Linked DNA regions of Homo sapiens: all the other regions are linked to region 1. The links are contacts of gene promoters, found by promoter capture Hi-C in blood cells and fetal thymus (Javierre and others, 2016). All regions are on one chromosome and are shown on one strand. The core of a region is centred on a gene start or on the middle of the fragment in contact, and the rest is flanking DNA. Distances in the headings are between cores, read along the strand shown. Region 1 overlaps RBM25-AS1 (RBM25 antisense RNA 1). Region 2 holds the start of SNW1 (SNW domain containing 1). Region 3 holds the start of VIPAS39 (VPS33B interacting protein, apical-basolateral polarity regulator, spe-39 homolog). Region 4 holds the start of POMT2 (protein O-mannosyltransferase 2).

Region 1 (3,604 bases), core at 995-3,494:
CAGCATTTTGGGAGGCTGTGGCAGGTGGATCACCTGAGGTCGGGAGTTGGAGACCGGCCTGGCTAACATGGAGAAACCCCACCTCTACTAAAAATACAAAATTAGCTCGGCATGGTGGCATGTGCCTGTAATCCCAGCTACTTGGGAAGCTATGCCAGGAGAATCGCTTGAACCTGGGAGGCGGAAGTTGCGGTGAGCCGAGATCATGCCATTGCATTCCAGCCTGGGCAATGAGAACAAAACTCCATCTCAAAAAAAAAAAAAAGAAAAAAAAAAGAATGGTGTCCAAATGCACACAGAATGTAATATCCAAATTAATTATCTACAGTTTCCTTAGCAAGGATTTGTAAGAAAAAAATAGAAGGAGGATAACTGGCATCGCAAATGAATGGCTTGGCTTGTTCTCTACAAGTGGTATATAAGTGTATCATTTAGAGTTCTTTCTGTGTAAGGAATAGAAAACTCAACTCAAACTGATTTCGGAAAAGTAATGTATTGGGTTACATACTGATAAGCCTAGAACAGCTGGCTTTAGGAGTAGCTGAGCCAGCCGGGCTCAGTGTAATCCTGGCTTTTGGGAGGCTGAGGTGGGAGAATCGCTGGAGCCTGGAAAGTTGAGGCTGCAGTGAGCCGTGATCATGCCACTGCACTCTAGCCGGGACAACAAAGGGAGACCCTATCTCAAATAACAACAGCAATAACAAACCAAAAAACAAACAAAATGAATGAATGAACCATTTTCTCAACTGATATTGTCAAAAATCTCTCACCCTGTCTTACTTCTGCTTTCTTCTGTGATTTCATTCTCATCCCCATCTATTCTAAGCTTAAATCCTCCTAAGCTTAAATTGAAAAAAAAAAATCAATTTAAATGAAAAATATAGAGACCCCTCCCCTTCTTTTTAGGATTATTCCTGAAAGGATGAAGCAGTATAATGTTCCAGAGCACGAACTCAGGAACCAGACTGGCTCACTTACTATTTTTGTAGCCTTTGATAGGTTAATTTTTGCAAGCCTTGGTTTCTTCATTTGTATCACAATAGTTCTTACTTCAGGGGGTTGTTATGAGGATTAAAGGAGTTGATATTTGCAAAATGCTTTAAACAGTGGCTAGTACCAAAAAAAAAAAAAAAAAAAAAAGGGAGGGGTGACTAAATCATCAGGTTTTGATTAGGTTGTAAGTTTACTCCTGTGTCCTAAGGGGGTCTGGTTAGAGTTGGGACTTCCTATCCAAAGTACATGGATCTGGAGTAGTGGAAGGATGGTTTCTTTTCTTTTTTTTTTTTTTAGACCGAGTTTTGCTCTTGTTGTCCAGGCTGGAGTGCAATGGCGCGATCTCGGCTCACTGCAACCTCTGCCTGCTGGGTTCAAGCGATTTTCCTGCCTCAGCCTCCTGAGCTGCTGGGATTACAGGTGCCTGCCACCACGCCCAGCTAATTTTTGTTATTTTTAGTAGAGACAGGGTTTCGCCATGTTGGCCAGGCTGGTCTCGAACTCCTGACCTCAGGTGATCCACCCGCCTCGGCCTCCTGAAGTGCTGGGATTACAGGTGTGAGCCACTGCACCTGGCTTTTTTTAGACAGAGTCTTGCTCTGTTGCCCAGGCTGGAGTGCAGTGGCGCAATCTCGCCTCACTGCAACCTCTGCCTCCCAGGTTCAAGCGATTCTCCTGCCTTGGCCTCCCAAGTAACTGGGACTACAGGCACACATCACCAAGCCCAGCTAATTTTTGTATTTTTAGTAGAGGCGGGGTTTCACCATGTTGGTCAGGCTGGTCTTGATCTCTTGACCTCGTGATCTGCCTGCCTCGGCCTCCCAAAGTGCTGGGATTACAGGCGTGAGCCACCGCACCCGGCCAAGATGGTTTCTTTTAAAAAATGTGGAGGGTTCATTACTAAAGGCAAGGGGAATGGATGCTGCATGAACATCAGCAACAAATTGTCTAAGGTAGGAAAGTTAGCAAATTGTTGCCTGAGGGCTCCCTTTATTACACAGTAAACACAAATTCATGTACAATGTTTCTAATAATAAAAAGGGACACAGATTAATCTGAGATTTCTGTTTATGCCTTTTGTTGTAAATAGGCACAAACTCTTGGGCGGCCATGGTGGCTCACAGCTTTGATCCCAGCACTTTGGGAGGTCCAGGTGGGCGGATTACCTGAGGTCAGGAGTTGGAGATCAACCTGGCCAACATGGTGAAACCCCATCTCTACTAAAAATACAAAAGTTAGCCAGGTATGGTGACCCACGCCTATAATCCCAGCTACTGGGGAGGCTGAGGCACAAGAATCGCTTGAACTGGGAGGCAGAGATTGCAGTGAGCCAAGATCACGTCACTGCACTCTAGCCTGGGAAACAGAGACACCTCCTCAAAAAACAAAAACAAAACAAAACAAAAAAAGAAACTCATTTTATTTACAAACAATAAATAGCATTATAGAGTAGCACTATAAAAACTATAAATTTGAATAGCACTTTACTGAACAAAGTACAAACATACATAAGTTAATTTCGTCTCCCAAGTAACTGGGACTACAAGCACTCGTCATCACGCACGGCCAAAGGTATTATTAACTTTAGTTAATGGTAAGGAAACCTAGCAAGCAGAAGTATAGAAGGATGTAAATTTTGCAGATGGTAGTAATTAGTGCTACTTTCTCATTTGTGCTCCCACTAAATTTTGTGTTCTATTGGTACTCATCATATGTTAATCATTTCTTTTCTTTTCTTTTCTTTTTTTTTGAGACAATGTCTCACTTTGTTGCCCAGGCTGGAGTGCAGTGGTGCCATCTCGGCTCACTGCAACCTCCGCCTCCAGGGTTCAAGCGATTCTCCTGCCTCAGCCTCCCGAGTAGCTGGGATTACAGGCGCCTGCCACCACGCCTAGTTTATTTTTGTATTTTCAGTAGAGACGGGGTTTTGCCATGTTGGCCAGGGTGGCCTCGAACTCCTAACCTCAGGTGATCCACCCGCCTCGGCCTCCCAAAGTGCTGGGGTTACAGGCGTGAGCCACCGCGCCCGGCCGGTAATCATTTCTGTCACTCAACAAATATTTATTGAGCGCTTGCTATGTACCAGGACCTGTTCTTGCACAAAACAGGCAATCCATGCATTGCTTACATTCACATTCTAGTGGGGGTAGTGACGGACCATAAAATCAGCAAGAAAAATGTATGTTATGATAGATGGTTATGAGTGCTTTAGAGTAAAATTAAGTAGGGGAGGCAGGCAGGAAGTGTGTAGTATGTTTCAATTTTATATTAGGCTGGTCATGGTTTGTCATCTATTTCACCTGGCTCACAGTTCTTGCAGGACAGGAACAAATCTCACTTCCATTTGCCTTCATACTTCCAGCACTTAACACAGCACCAGGAACTCAGGGAGGCAATAACTTTATACTGAATCCGTTTTATGCCTTCCTAGAGGCAAGCAGTTGAGAAAGGCGTGTAACTAGATATTGCCTATAAGGTCCACAATTGGAATAACGTAATCATTTATGATTAATTTTATTCATTTCCATTAACTTAAGCTAAGTTCTTTTAGCACGTTTAGATTACAGAACGAAAGCTGTGTTAACTAGTATTACAGGACTTTTCACGTTTT
Region 2 (3,604 bases), core at 806-3,305, 4.7 Mb after region 1:
GATATTACAAAGAATACTGAGGAACACCAGATGGTAGGTATGGAAAGCTCTGGAGTCCTCAAGACTGGCCATTTAAAGATCGCATTCTGCCACTGCAATTTTAAGCACGCAATACCCATGACAGGCCAGATGATGTGGTGGCTCACGCCAGTAATGCCAGCACTGTGGGAGGCTGAGATGGGTAGATCAGATCAGTTAAGCCCAGTTCAAGACCAGGCTGGGCAACATGGCAAAACCCCATCTCTACTAAAAAAAACAAAAATTAACTGGGCATCATGGCAAGCGTCTAGAGTCCCAGCTACTCTAGGGCGCTGAGGCAGGAGGATCACCTGAGCCTTGGGAGGTTGAGGCTGCAGTGGGCTGTGATTGGGCCACTGCACTCCAGCCTGGGCAAGAGTGAGACCCTATATCAAAAAATAAAATAAATAAAAAATACCCATGACATCTCTAGAAATTTTTCCTGTGTGTCCATTTCAAATTCCACCTTTTCCACAAAGTCTCCCCTCATAACTTTACTAGTCTATGACACAGTGTCTCACACCTGGGGAGCACTCAAATGTTTGCTGCCTGTAACATTTACTAAACAAACTCTTGGCTGGGCATGGTAGCTCATGCCTGCAATCCCAGCACTTTGGGAGGCCTAGGTGAGAAGATTGATGGAGGCCAAGAGTTGGAGACCACTCTGGCCAACGCAGTAACACCCTATTTCTAGTTTTTTTTTAAAAAAATTTCAGATGCCGGGCATGGTGGCTCATGCCTGTAATCCTAGCACTTTCGGAGGCCGAGACAGGAGGACTGCTTGAGGCCAAGAATTCAAGACCAACCTGGCCAACACAGCGAGACCGCATCTCAAAAAATAAAGTTAAAAAAAAAAGCAAAAAAATTTTAGAAACGAGGGTGGGGAGAAAACTCTCCAGCCCACATAACTTATTCCATTCAATTCTTTTTGCACTAAGGTTAGTATTACACAAATGCACATTTTGTGTTCTGTAATTGTTTTATGTCTGTATACCTTGCACCCCTATCTTCCCTGTTGCCAAAGACAGATTTTCTTCTGTGTACACAACCCCCAGGACAGAGCAAGGCACCAACAGTAATTCCCAAAATAATTTTTTGATTAAAACTTTTGGAGTCATACTGTCATCAGCCAGAAAAAAAAACATGCGTGAGGAGAATGAAGGGTGTTAAAAGAGCTCAAGCTGATGTCCTGAAAGGATTACTTTATCTATAACCTTCCTGAACACTAGCCTTTTCCTGTTGAGTTCGCATGGAAAGTTTTTCCACTTAAAATGGGGCAGCAAGGCTGGGAACTAGTAGGAGTAGCGTAACTTCTCGGACTCTCCCACTGAAAAGCATCTTTTTCTTAAAGGCGGAGAGCACTTTACAGACGGTTACTAAGGTAACCGGAAACAGCAAAACTGAGGTGGTTCTATCTACGGAAGAAATTCTAAGCTCCAAAGTTAAAATGCGGAGCAGTGGCGCATATCAGCAGACGGCGGTCACTACTGTGGCTCATTTAAATCTGTGTTCAGCTCCGGGCCTCTTTTTTCAGGAATCCTTGTTTCGGGACACCCAGTGGACAGCGAAAGGAGAGAGACCACCACAGGCAAACGGCCGGAAAGCCGCGCAGTCGCAGCCCGCGCGCTTCACTCCGCCCAAATAAGCCACTACCGTCACCAACCCCATCTCGTTCGCCCGAGCCGCGGACCTGAGGGAGCGCTGTCCGCTCCCCGCAAGATGCTCACGCGAAAAACCCACTCTTCAGTGTCTGAGACCACTCCGCAGCTTTCGGCCTCGGTGAGCGGGTGAACTAAACCCGGGAAACCGCTGAAAGACCCCAGCTTCGACTAGGCCTAGTCGTAGCGGCGGCCAGCGGGAGGGCGTAGCCGTAGTCTTGGCCCACGTCATTCTGTGCCCCGGGTCAGGTCACCGCCCGGAGGGTATGGGAAGAGAAATGAAGAAGACTGGTACTCCCAGACCCTTCCGTATCGAGGACCCCAATCAACAACCCACCTGGTGAGCGCCATCTTCTTCCGCTTCTTCCAGCGCGAGCGACAGCACCGCTGGGCGGGTCTTTCCAGATGATGAGGAGCGGAAAGGAAGGAGTGCGCGATGCGCAGGCGCTCTGGCCGAAAAGGCCTTCTGGGATTTGTAGTTCTTTGAACAGGAGTACCGTTTGTATTCTGACCAGACCAAGCGGTTATCAAGGAATAATCTCTTCAGCTAGCAACAAATGCATAACTCGATCGCTTATATGCGACATGATAGGGCGTTCCCTAGGCAAAATATCAAAGATACAGGGAGATGCCTTTTAGGCCGCTTTATTACGTTCCTTACTCAGTCCCGTTCCCCGAGAAGGGGTACAAAATACAAAAGCTTCCCGGGGACAGCTACTTTAAGTAAGAGTGATAGGGCGTTTAAAACGACAGGTAATAATGAGACTAGCTAATGGAGAGTCCTTGGACTCTCTGAAAACATTCACACTCAAAACTTTTCTTTAAACCATATCCTCTCACCCGCCAAAACACTCTCTTGGGGAGATATTTCGTAATCCTTGGTAATTTACCGAGTGTCTGGGTTCTCTGCCCAGGGTATGACAAGGCTGAAATCTCATAGGAGGCTCTGGAGAAAAATCCATCTCCTAACTCATTCTTGTTGGCAAAAATCAGTTCCTGGCGGTTGTGGGATCGAGTTCCCTGTTTTGTTTTGTGCTGTTAGTGGTGGCCACCCTCAGCTCCTAGGGGTCACTCTCGAGTCCTTCCCACATGAGCCCTATTTATTGGTAGTTCACAACATGGATATTTGCTTTCTGAGGCACATCTTTCTGACTCCTCTTCTGCCACTGTTGGAGAAAAATGCCCTGCTTTTAAAGGGCTCATGTGATTAGATCAGGAGCACCTGGATAATCTCCCTATTTTAAGATCAACTCTTGGCCGGGCGCAGTAGCTCACACTTGTAATCCTAGCACTTTGGGAGGTCGGGGCGGGCGGATTGCCTGAGCTCAGGAGTTCGACAAAGCCTGGGCAACATGGTGAAACCCTGTCTCTACTAAAAATACAAAAATTAGCTGGGCGTTGTGGCGCGCTCCTGTAGTCCTAGCTACTGGGGAGGCTGAGGCAGGAGAATCGTGTGAATCAGGAGACGGAGGTTGCAGTGAGCCAAGATCACGCCACTGCACTCCAGCCTGGCGACAGAGTGAGACTGCGTCTCAAAAAATAAAAATAAATAAATAAATAAATAAATAAATAATATAAAAGAATAGCTGGGTGTGGTGATGTGCTCTTGTTTTCTCAGCTACTTGGGAGGCTGAGGTACAAGAATCGCTTGAACCCAGGAGGTGGAGGTTGCAGTGAGCCGAGATTGCACCATTGCACTCCAGCGTGGGTGACAAAGTAAAATTCTGTCTCAAAAAAAAAAAAAAAATCAACTCTGCCACACCGCATAACAGAATCAGAATCTTCATAGTCATGGCCCCAGGGGTTATGTAGGTCAGGTACTGTGGGGGTTGGGTGAGGAGGAGATCTTGGGGGATATCCTAGAATTCTGCCTGCCACAGCATGTAAACCAAAAAAACAAAAAGAAAAAATCTTTTGGTAAATACAGG
Region 3 (3,604 bases), core at 390-2,889, 4.4 Mb after region 1:
AACCTTGAGTTCAAATCCTGGTTTCTCTTAATTCTGAGCAAAGTGGATAAATGACTTTACTTCTAAGCCTTGGAGAAAATTATATCCTATCTCACAGGGTTGCAGGGAACATCTATAAAAGTGTCTAGCAGAAAGTAAATACTAAATGTTATTTCCTTTTAATATGGAATATCATACTGACATTTTTCTGTCTTGGTTTTCCCGTCTGTTAAATGGGCATAACAGATGACCTACCTTAGAAATGGTTCTGAGGAGTAAACCAGTTAATACATGTAAAGTGCTTAGTGCCTGACCCAAAATTAACACTCAATAGTAACTTTTATTATTAATACATCATCCTGGTACCTTGGGAAAAGCTAAAAAAGAAAATATTTTTTAGCAATCCTAAAGATTAAAAAAAATACAAAAATTCTGAGTAGCCACAAATGCTGAAGATGTGTATAGAACATATAAATGTCTCTGGCACACATGTCAGTTCATAAATCACTCTGTCATTCGTTTGATCCTCAGAACAATCTTGTAAGGTAGGCCTGGGAGATTCCATTTCCATGTTACTCATGGGGAAAGTGAGGCACAAAAGAGTTCAGTATCAAAGCCACTTTGTTAAATGCTCCTATTTCAAATTACAATCCAGGCTTTCTGGCTCCTAGACCATTTCTAGTGTCTTGCATGGTCCTTCTACCTATTTTTCACTTTCCAGAAAACTAGAGATCATTCCTTCACTATAGTAATTATCTACAGATAGACATAGAATGTGTCTAACAAACACAATAATCTACCAGAGGATTTCTGGAATCTTTTTAACCATGCAATGGCAGTAGACAACTGCCATCAATTTGTATTTATAACGCCAAATGAGAAGCTAGGTTTACTTGGCAAGTATAGATAATGATCTAGTGGCTCTAGAGTTATAAAGTAATCAGGTACGATTGTCACTCTTAAGAGTGACAGGTGCTTCAACATGATTTAAAATACTTCAGAGGTTTGTCTTTATCGTCTCTTGTTTACTGACAGCCCACAAGGCAGGGTGAGAGACCTCAGGGGAGAACAGGAACTTTACAAAGGAAAACAGAAGAATCAGCAAGAAAACCACAACATGCTCCCTGCCTCAGAAAACTCCAAAAACCACCTACTGAGAAGTCAGACTTGGTTTCAATTATCTTCCGAGCCAGGAAGATACAGGTGAGGCTTGTGAACTGAGACCAGGGAACAAGAGTTAAGCTAGGATGACTCTACGGGTGAACGTCCAGGAAGCCATGGATCTACCGCAGTCGTCAGAGCCCAGCGGATCCCTGGCAGAGTTAAATGCTCGTTCTGAACCAAATGTCCGCTTCCGAACCAATCGCTGGTGCTCACTCGCAGCCCCAGTCCCAAGCGTACTCCAGCGCCCAAGGGTCGCCCTGACTGAAAGAAGAGAATCAGGCCTGTAGTCATAGGGTGTAGGGATGCCTCCTAGAAGAGGGGAAAAGATCAAGATGCGGAGAGGCTGGATCCAGCCAGATACGCGACCCAAGGGGCTTGGGACACCCTCACCTCTTCCGCACAGAGCCCTCCCTCTCAGGACAGCGCCAGCCTCCGCCGCCGCTGGACCAGCCCTTCTATTCAGGCTGTGCAGCTTAGAGAAGGGGGCGGAAGGGAATAATCGTAGGGCGGAGAGAAAACACGAATAACGAGACCGCAGGGCATGCTGGAAGTCGTAGTTTCTTCTGCCTCTGCTGTCAGGCGCTGTCCCGACGAACCACAAGGCTTCTTGACTACAGCCCCCAGAAACCCCAAGCACCGTGCTAGGTCATTTCCTCTCCTTTCCGCGAGACCTTCCGCGGTTATCCAGCGAGTCACGTAGCAAGACTACAATTCCCATGAGGCTCAGCAAGGGCGATTTAGGGTCCAGGGAAGCAATGAGACGTGTTCTTTGTTTTCCTATGGGTGAGGAATGGTTGTATGAGCAGTTGGGTTTCGGGACGCTTTTTGGGGAGAACCCGATGGAGTCTGAAGGATCTCTAAATCAGGCGGAACCCACGGTGCGGCGAGTTGGGACGGAAGTAACCGGTGGGAGTGGGGAGGAGCCGGAAGTTAAGGAGGGGAGGGGGTGGAGGGAAAAGCAAGCCAGGAGGTGCTTGCGGCCGCTTCTAGTAGTTTCCAGGCGCTGCCGGGCGGCTGGCACTAAGCGGTCCTGAGGCTGTGGCTACGGCTGCTCCGGAGCTGGTGGCGCCGCGATAGGAGAGCCGATGGCCAAGTGGGGTGAGGGAGACCCACGCTGGATCGTGGAGGAGCGGGCGGACGCCACCAACGTCAACAACTGGCACTGGTGAGGGCCAGAAAAGCAGGCCGGCCTTGGGAGACCTGCGGCCGGGCCAGGGTTTCAGGGTTCCTAGAACCTCGGCCCGGACAGAGCTGGGGCTGAGGTAGCCCTGTCCGGAGATGGGGGTGGGTCCTTCCTGTGGCAGGGGTCCGTAGCCCCAGGCCTCTCCACTCCGCGGTCACCTTCTCAGTGTTTGAGGGGAGGGAGATGGACGTGGAGGGCTGCGCCCCAGAGGAGGGTTGTCAGAGAGACTAGGAGATAACGCCCTGGCTGCTGCATCCAGCCCGAGCAGGGAGGTGCTTATTACACGTGGCCAGAGGAGTCACTGAGACTGGAACCTCCTTTGATTGTGTTGGGAGATAGCTGTGAAAGGCCTAAGGCCAGGGGTCTGTAATTCCTATTTTGCGGCCTGCGGTAAAATTAAAAGTCATTCATAGGGGACCGCTGCAGCGGTCCCGCGGGAGATTGAGAACGTGTTGTGCAGGTGCTCAGAGCTCAGATAGCTGCGGCCTCTCACCCGGAACTATCAGGTCGGGTGTGTTGGAACTCCAGGTTGCCGAGCAGCCGTGGTTTTATAACCTGACCGTTCTTAAAATAACTGCCCTCCTTCATGAAATCTTCCCAAAGTAATATTAGTTTCCTTATTTTTGAATTCCACTGAACTTTTTTCGTAATGTTTGTATTGTACCGTTACTTTGTTGCAGCCTTTTTTGCTGTTGTTTTCTCTAATAGTTGATAAGTAGGAAGGCAGATAGTGATGTTTCTTTTCCATATCTCACTTTGTATTCTCTCTTCTTAACATGCAGAGTACTTGACCTAATTTTTGTTGTTTGTTTTGAAGCCCTGGACTTAACGTTTTTGTGGCCATCTAGGGGACAGTGAATGTGTAGGAAGTTTATAATGCAAGTGCGAATCTGATAGGTCAGAACACCGTGCCAATGAGGTCAGGGTTATTGGTTTAATCCTTTCTGGGCCTTTTAGCTAAGTACTATTCTTTCATGGTCCAGTCTGTGTTCCTGATCTCAGCAATATGTGCAGTTTTCCACTTGGTCAAATGGGGGCGCCATGTTAAAGTATCAAGTATTCCCCCGCACCATCATGCCGAGAAAGGAGAGCATAATTTTCCATTGAGTTTATACCATTTTCTACAGCAGCTGTCTTTGTTGACAGTGTGCAACCCCTTGTCTTCCTAAAAAAGAATGACATGTTTGTGGACATACTGGAGTGCGACTGGGAGTTTTTGTGTTCTTTTCAAACTATTTGTCAGGCCTCCTTTAACCTCGTATTCTCTTGCATAGAGCA
Region 4 (3,604 bases), core at 1,105-3,604, 4.3 Mb after region 1:
AGGTTATGCCTTGTCTAGTGATTGAGGCTGCAACTGTTCAGTGACACTGCCCATGTGGTTTAAACCACTGTAATGGTAATCAAATTTGATGGTGATCCAAATAAAAATCTAACAAAAATCCTGGAGTGGCCTGCACTCCTCCAAGTAATATGTTAGTGTAAGGAAGAATGGGTCACAAAATATCTTTCCATTAATCATGGTAGTTAATTTTTTTTTTTTTTTTTTGAGACAGAGTCTGGCTTTGTCGCCTAGGCTGGAATGCAATGGTGCGATCTTAGCTCACTGCAACCTCTGCTTCCCAGGTTCAAGTGATTCTCCCACCTCAGCCTCCCGAGTAGCTGGGATTACAGGCACCCGCCATCATGCCCGGCTAAGTCTTGTATTTTCAGTTGAGACGGAGTTTCACCATGTTGGCCAGGTTGGTCTCGAACTCCTGACCTCAGGTGATCTGCCCGCCTCGGCCTCCCAAACTGCCGGGATTACAGGTGTGAGCCACTGCGCCCAGCCTGGTAATTACTTTCTTAAAAAAATTTTTACAAGGGTAGTGGGCTATTGTAATTACTGGTAATGACACCAAAGATCAGAGATCAATCTGAACCCCTGTGCACAGGTCACAGTGGTTAATAGACTGGTCTTAGACTGCAGCCCAGATGTCTGAAATAAGATTCCTCGGTGCCCCCAGGACTTATTCACAAGTGGCTGAATCCAGGACCCTGGAGGGCATGGTTGAGGTAAATACTGTAAGCTGGCCTTATTCTGCTGCTTAGAGTCCCATTGACAACAACCTTAATTAAATGCTGTAAGGGACAAACTGAAAAGATGTGAGTAGCCAGGGGAGTTGTATATTCATGTGAAAATCTGCTAGAAGCCAAGACCATAGAATCGAGGAGTGAGAGAGGCTGTCAGATTGCTCGTGCCTCTACACATCATTCTGGGTATACCAAGAATGCAAGGCCCTGACTGCATCTCACCTGGGCCATTTCTCATGGTTGTGTTTGCAGCAAGCAACTTTGAGAGAAGAGGCAGTGTCTCCCTCCAGGACAAAGAGGAGGTCTGCGTACTGCCTTCTATAAAACAGCAGATTTTCCAAGCTTGTCGTTCCTTCACTTGGATGCAACCCACTGCCTGTGCAGTCATCCATTTAAACCCATAGCGTCACCCTGTGGGACTTGGATGGCAAGGGAAACTGCTTCTAACATGCATCCTATTTCCTGTAATAAAGTCCTTTGTCTCTAACCCAGGAGTCTCATCTTCTGCCAGCAGTCACGACACAATAACAAGCTAATTTATTAATTTCTAAATAAAGCAACCCTGACAGTCTGTTTTCTTGCCTGCTTTTTGCTTAAAGAATTCCATTTCTGACACCCAGTATCTGGATAGTACAAGCTAAAACCTTTAAGAAAATAAATCTCTTCTCACAAGAAGAGTTCTGCCTCATAAAATCCTTTGGTCACCATACCTGAACACCCAAACTGTCCTTGCCCTATAGGATAAAGGTACACAGTTAGGTATTTTCTCCTCTGTTGATGCCTGAAAATCCTGCAGACATAGGAACTCAGGCCTTAGAAAATTCTGTACCCAAAAATTTGCAATTCTCTTTGGAAAGTTGAAAGCACCTTTAAAAGCCACAATTTGCAAGCCAGGTGATGCACTGTAGCATAACCTGGAAGACATGAGGGCTGCTTCCTCAGATACTAAGAATCCCACTGCCCCACCACCAGAGCAAAACGATCCCCCTCCCAGAGAATGCACCTCGCCAGAGGCCAACCCACCCGATACCTCAAGTTCCCCTCCACCGTGGCCCTCCTCCTATAGATCCCGCCCCCTCCGTACCCTCGGGCCAATCAGAGGGCGGCGTCCCGTCGCGGTTGCCATGGTGCCCGCCGAGTCCCTCCCATCACTCACCAGATGTGCGGCGGCTCGTCCAAGCGGTGGAAGCGGGTGGCGAAGGACAGCAGCGTCACCAAGGCCAGCAGGGCCCACCAGCCGACCGCCTCGAAGCGCCGTGAGCCCCAAGCAGGCCGTTTGGGGCTTCGCGCCACAGCCTCAGCGGCCACGTCCCGGCCTGCGGCCCTAGCAGCCTGGGGGCCACAGCGGCCCCTCCGGGGACGCAGCTCGGACTCTGCCAGGCCTCCGCCCGTGGCCGGCGGCATCTTCCCCCTCCTCTGGGTCGCCCTCCGGCCCGGAGGCACACTTTGTCTGACCAGCCGCCCCGCCAAGGAGTCACAAGAGGGCAGCTCGGGGTACCCCGGGAAATGCAACGCCCTTCACTGCAGCGGAGCGCGGGGCCCCGGGCTCGGGGCGGGGCGGGCAGCGTGGTCGCGGCCCGGGCCGCTAGGAGGCGGCAGGAGGCGCAGAGCATGTCGGGACCGGGAGGGCCGGCCGGCCCGGGGCGGGGGGGACTGGGCAGGAGGGGTCGGGCTCAGGGAACTGCAACTCCCAGCAGCCCCCAGGTACGGGGCGTGGCGGGAGAGCTGGGCGAGCCAGAGGCGACCGGAAGGATCTTTCTAGTCCAGCCCCTCGCTTTACCCGGACGAAAGACACGGGCCTGATTCGTCGAGTCTCACTGAGCCTTAGTCGTCGGCAGGTCCCAGGCGCGAAGTTTCTCGGCCTGGAGGAGGGGGTCGCGCGAAGTGCCAGATGCAGGCGGGGAAGGTCTGTGACGCGCACCCGGGTGGAGGGAAGCTGGTTAGACACCTGGAGACCCTGGGGGGCGGGGTCAGAAGTGAGCTGCACCGCCCGCCCAGGCCGACAACGACTCCCGGCATGCAGTGCTTTGCGCCGGGCACGCTCTGCGCCTGCGTGCTGCGCGCTGCCCGCTGGGGCTCGAAGTTCCGGGAGGGTTGGGCCAGAGGAGGCGGTCCTGGTAGGGAGTGCGTAGCAGGGTGGAGTCGCTGTCCGGTCGCGCTTCACTTCTGCTCCGCCCTCCCTGCTCCCCATAACAGACCCCTCCCTCCACTAAGGCTTCCAAACGTCGCCCCAAGCCTCCCAATTTCTCGCAGCCCTTCATGCTCTTCTCTTGGCCCTAGCAGGAGGTGACCTTCCAGTAATGTTTGTATTTTAAGAGTCCCCGGGCCGGGCGCGGTGGCTCACGCCTGTAATCCCAGCACTTTGGGAGGCCGAGGCGGGCGGATCACAAGGTCAGGAGATAGAGACCATCCTGGCTAACACGATGAAACCCTGTCTCTATTAAAATACAAAAAAATTAGCCAGGCGTGGTAGCGGGCGCCTGTAGTCCCAGCTACTCGGGAGGCTGAGGCAGGAGAATAGCGTGAACCCAGGAGGCGGAGCTTGCAGTGAGCCGAGATCGCGCCACTGCACTCCAGCCTGGGCGAAAGAGCGGGACTCCGGCTCAAAAAAAAAAAAAAAAGGCCCCGAGCGAGGAGAGGCAGTCATGACAATCACCTGGGGAGCTTCACGGCTTTCACATGTTCTTCCCGGGGCCTGCTCCAGAGCCACTCTGTTCATCTCTGGTGGAACGGGCTCGAGAATCTGCATGTTTTTATAAGCGGTCTAGATGGTTCTTAACGTGCCATGAAGTTTGAGAACCACTTTTGTGGCACTAAGGAAGGTGGCACGTTAGATGGGACTTTGCGTCACGTTA

Evidence for each region. Contacts are between HindIII fragments. The CHiCAGO score rates a contact against its expected background, and 5 or more counts as called.
Region 2: the fragment with the promoter of SNW1 here is called in contact with a fragment that was not itself captured in region 1 in 1 of 17 cell types (monocytes); the score reaches 5.8 in monocytes.
Region 3: a contact is called between the fragment with the promoter of VIPAS39 here and a fragment that was not itself captured in region 1, in 1 of 17 cell types (total CD8 T cells). The highest score is 5.6, in total CD8 T cells.
Region 4: the fragment with the promoter of POMT2 here is called in contact with a fragment that was not itself captured in region 1 in 1 of 17 cell types (total CD8 T cells); the score reaches 5.7 in total CD8 T cells.

The regions. Positions count from the first base shown.
Region 1 is chr14:73,054,434-73,058,037 of GRCh38, forward strand. RBM25-AS1 (RBM25 antisense RNA 1) reads right to left here. Exons shown (of 2, transcript NR_184256.1): 2 at 2,397-3,604. Among named protein-coding and RNA genes, the nearest start is that of RBM25, 2.3 kb to the right of the region's middle. RefSeq lists enhancers at 3,378-3,604, 3,414-3,604. The HindIII fragment of the contact is 2,809 bases long and covers 841-3,604 here.
Region 2 is chr14:77,759,101-77,762,704 of GRCh38, forward strand. It overlaps SNW1 (SNW domain containing 1), which reads right to left and starts at 2,056. Exons shown (of 14, transcript NM_012245.3): 1 at 2,014-2,056. The coding sequence starts at 2,027. SLIRP-OT1 (SLIRP overlapping transcript 1) reads left to right here and starts at 1,668. Exons shown (of 2, transcript NR_161324.1): 1 at 1,668-2,016. RefSeq lists enhancers at 1,246-2,020, 1,928-2,247, 2,795-3,569. The HindIII fragment of the contact is 7,128 bases long and covers 1-2,374 here.
Region 3 is chr14:77,455,962-77,459,565 of GRCh38, forward strand. It overlaps VIPAS39 (VPS33B interacting protein, apical-basolateral polarity regulator, spe-39 homolog), which reads right to left and starts at 1,640. Exons shown (of 20, transcript NM_001193315.2): 1 at 1,534-1,640. It overlaps AHSA1 (activator of HSP90 ATPase activity 1), which reads left to right and starts at 2,132. Exons shown (of 9, transcript NM_012111.3): 1 at 2,132-2,308. The coding sequence starts at 2,229. RefSeq lists enhancers at 1,438-1,960, 1,579-2,038, 1,961-2,483, 2,209-2,388. The HindIII fragment of the contact is 4,049 bases long and covers 1-3,604 here.
Region 4 is chr14:77,318,529-77,322,132 of GRCh38, forward strand. It overlaps POMT2 (protein O-mannosyltransferase 2), which reads right to left and starts at 2,355. Exons shown (of 21, transcript NM_013382.7): 1 at 1,906-2,355. The coding sequence starts at 2,153. It overlaps GSTZ1 (glutathione S-transferase zeta 1), which reads left to right and starts at 2,508. Exons shown (of 9, transcript NM_145870.3): 1 at 2,508-2,655. The coding sequence starts at 2,641. RefSeq lists silencers at 1,842-1,891, 2,122-2,501 and enhancers at 2,582-2,851, 2,729-3,590, 3,122-3,171. The HindIII fragment of the contact is 6,086 bases long and covers 1,090-3,604 here.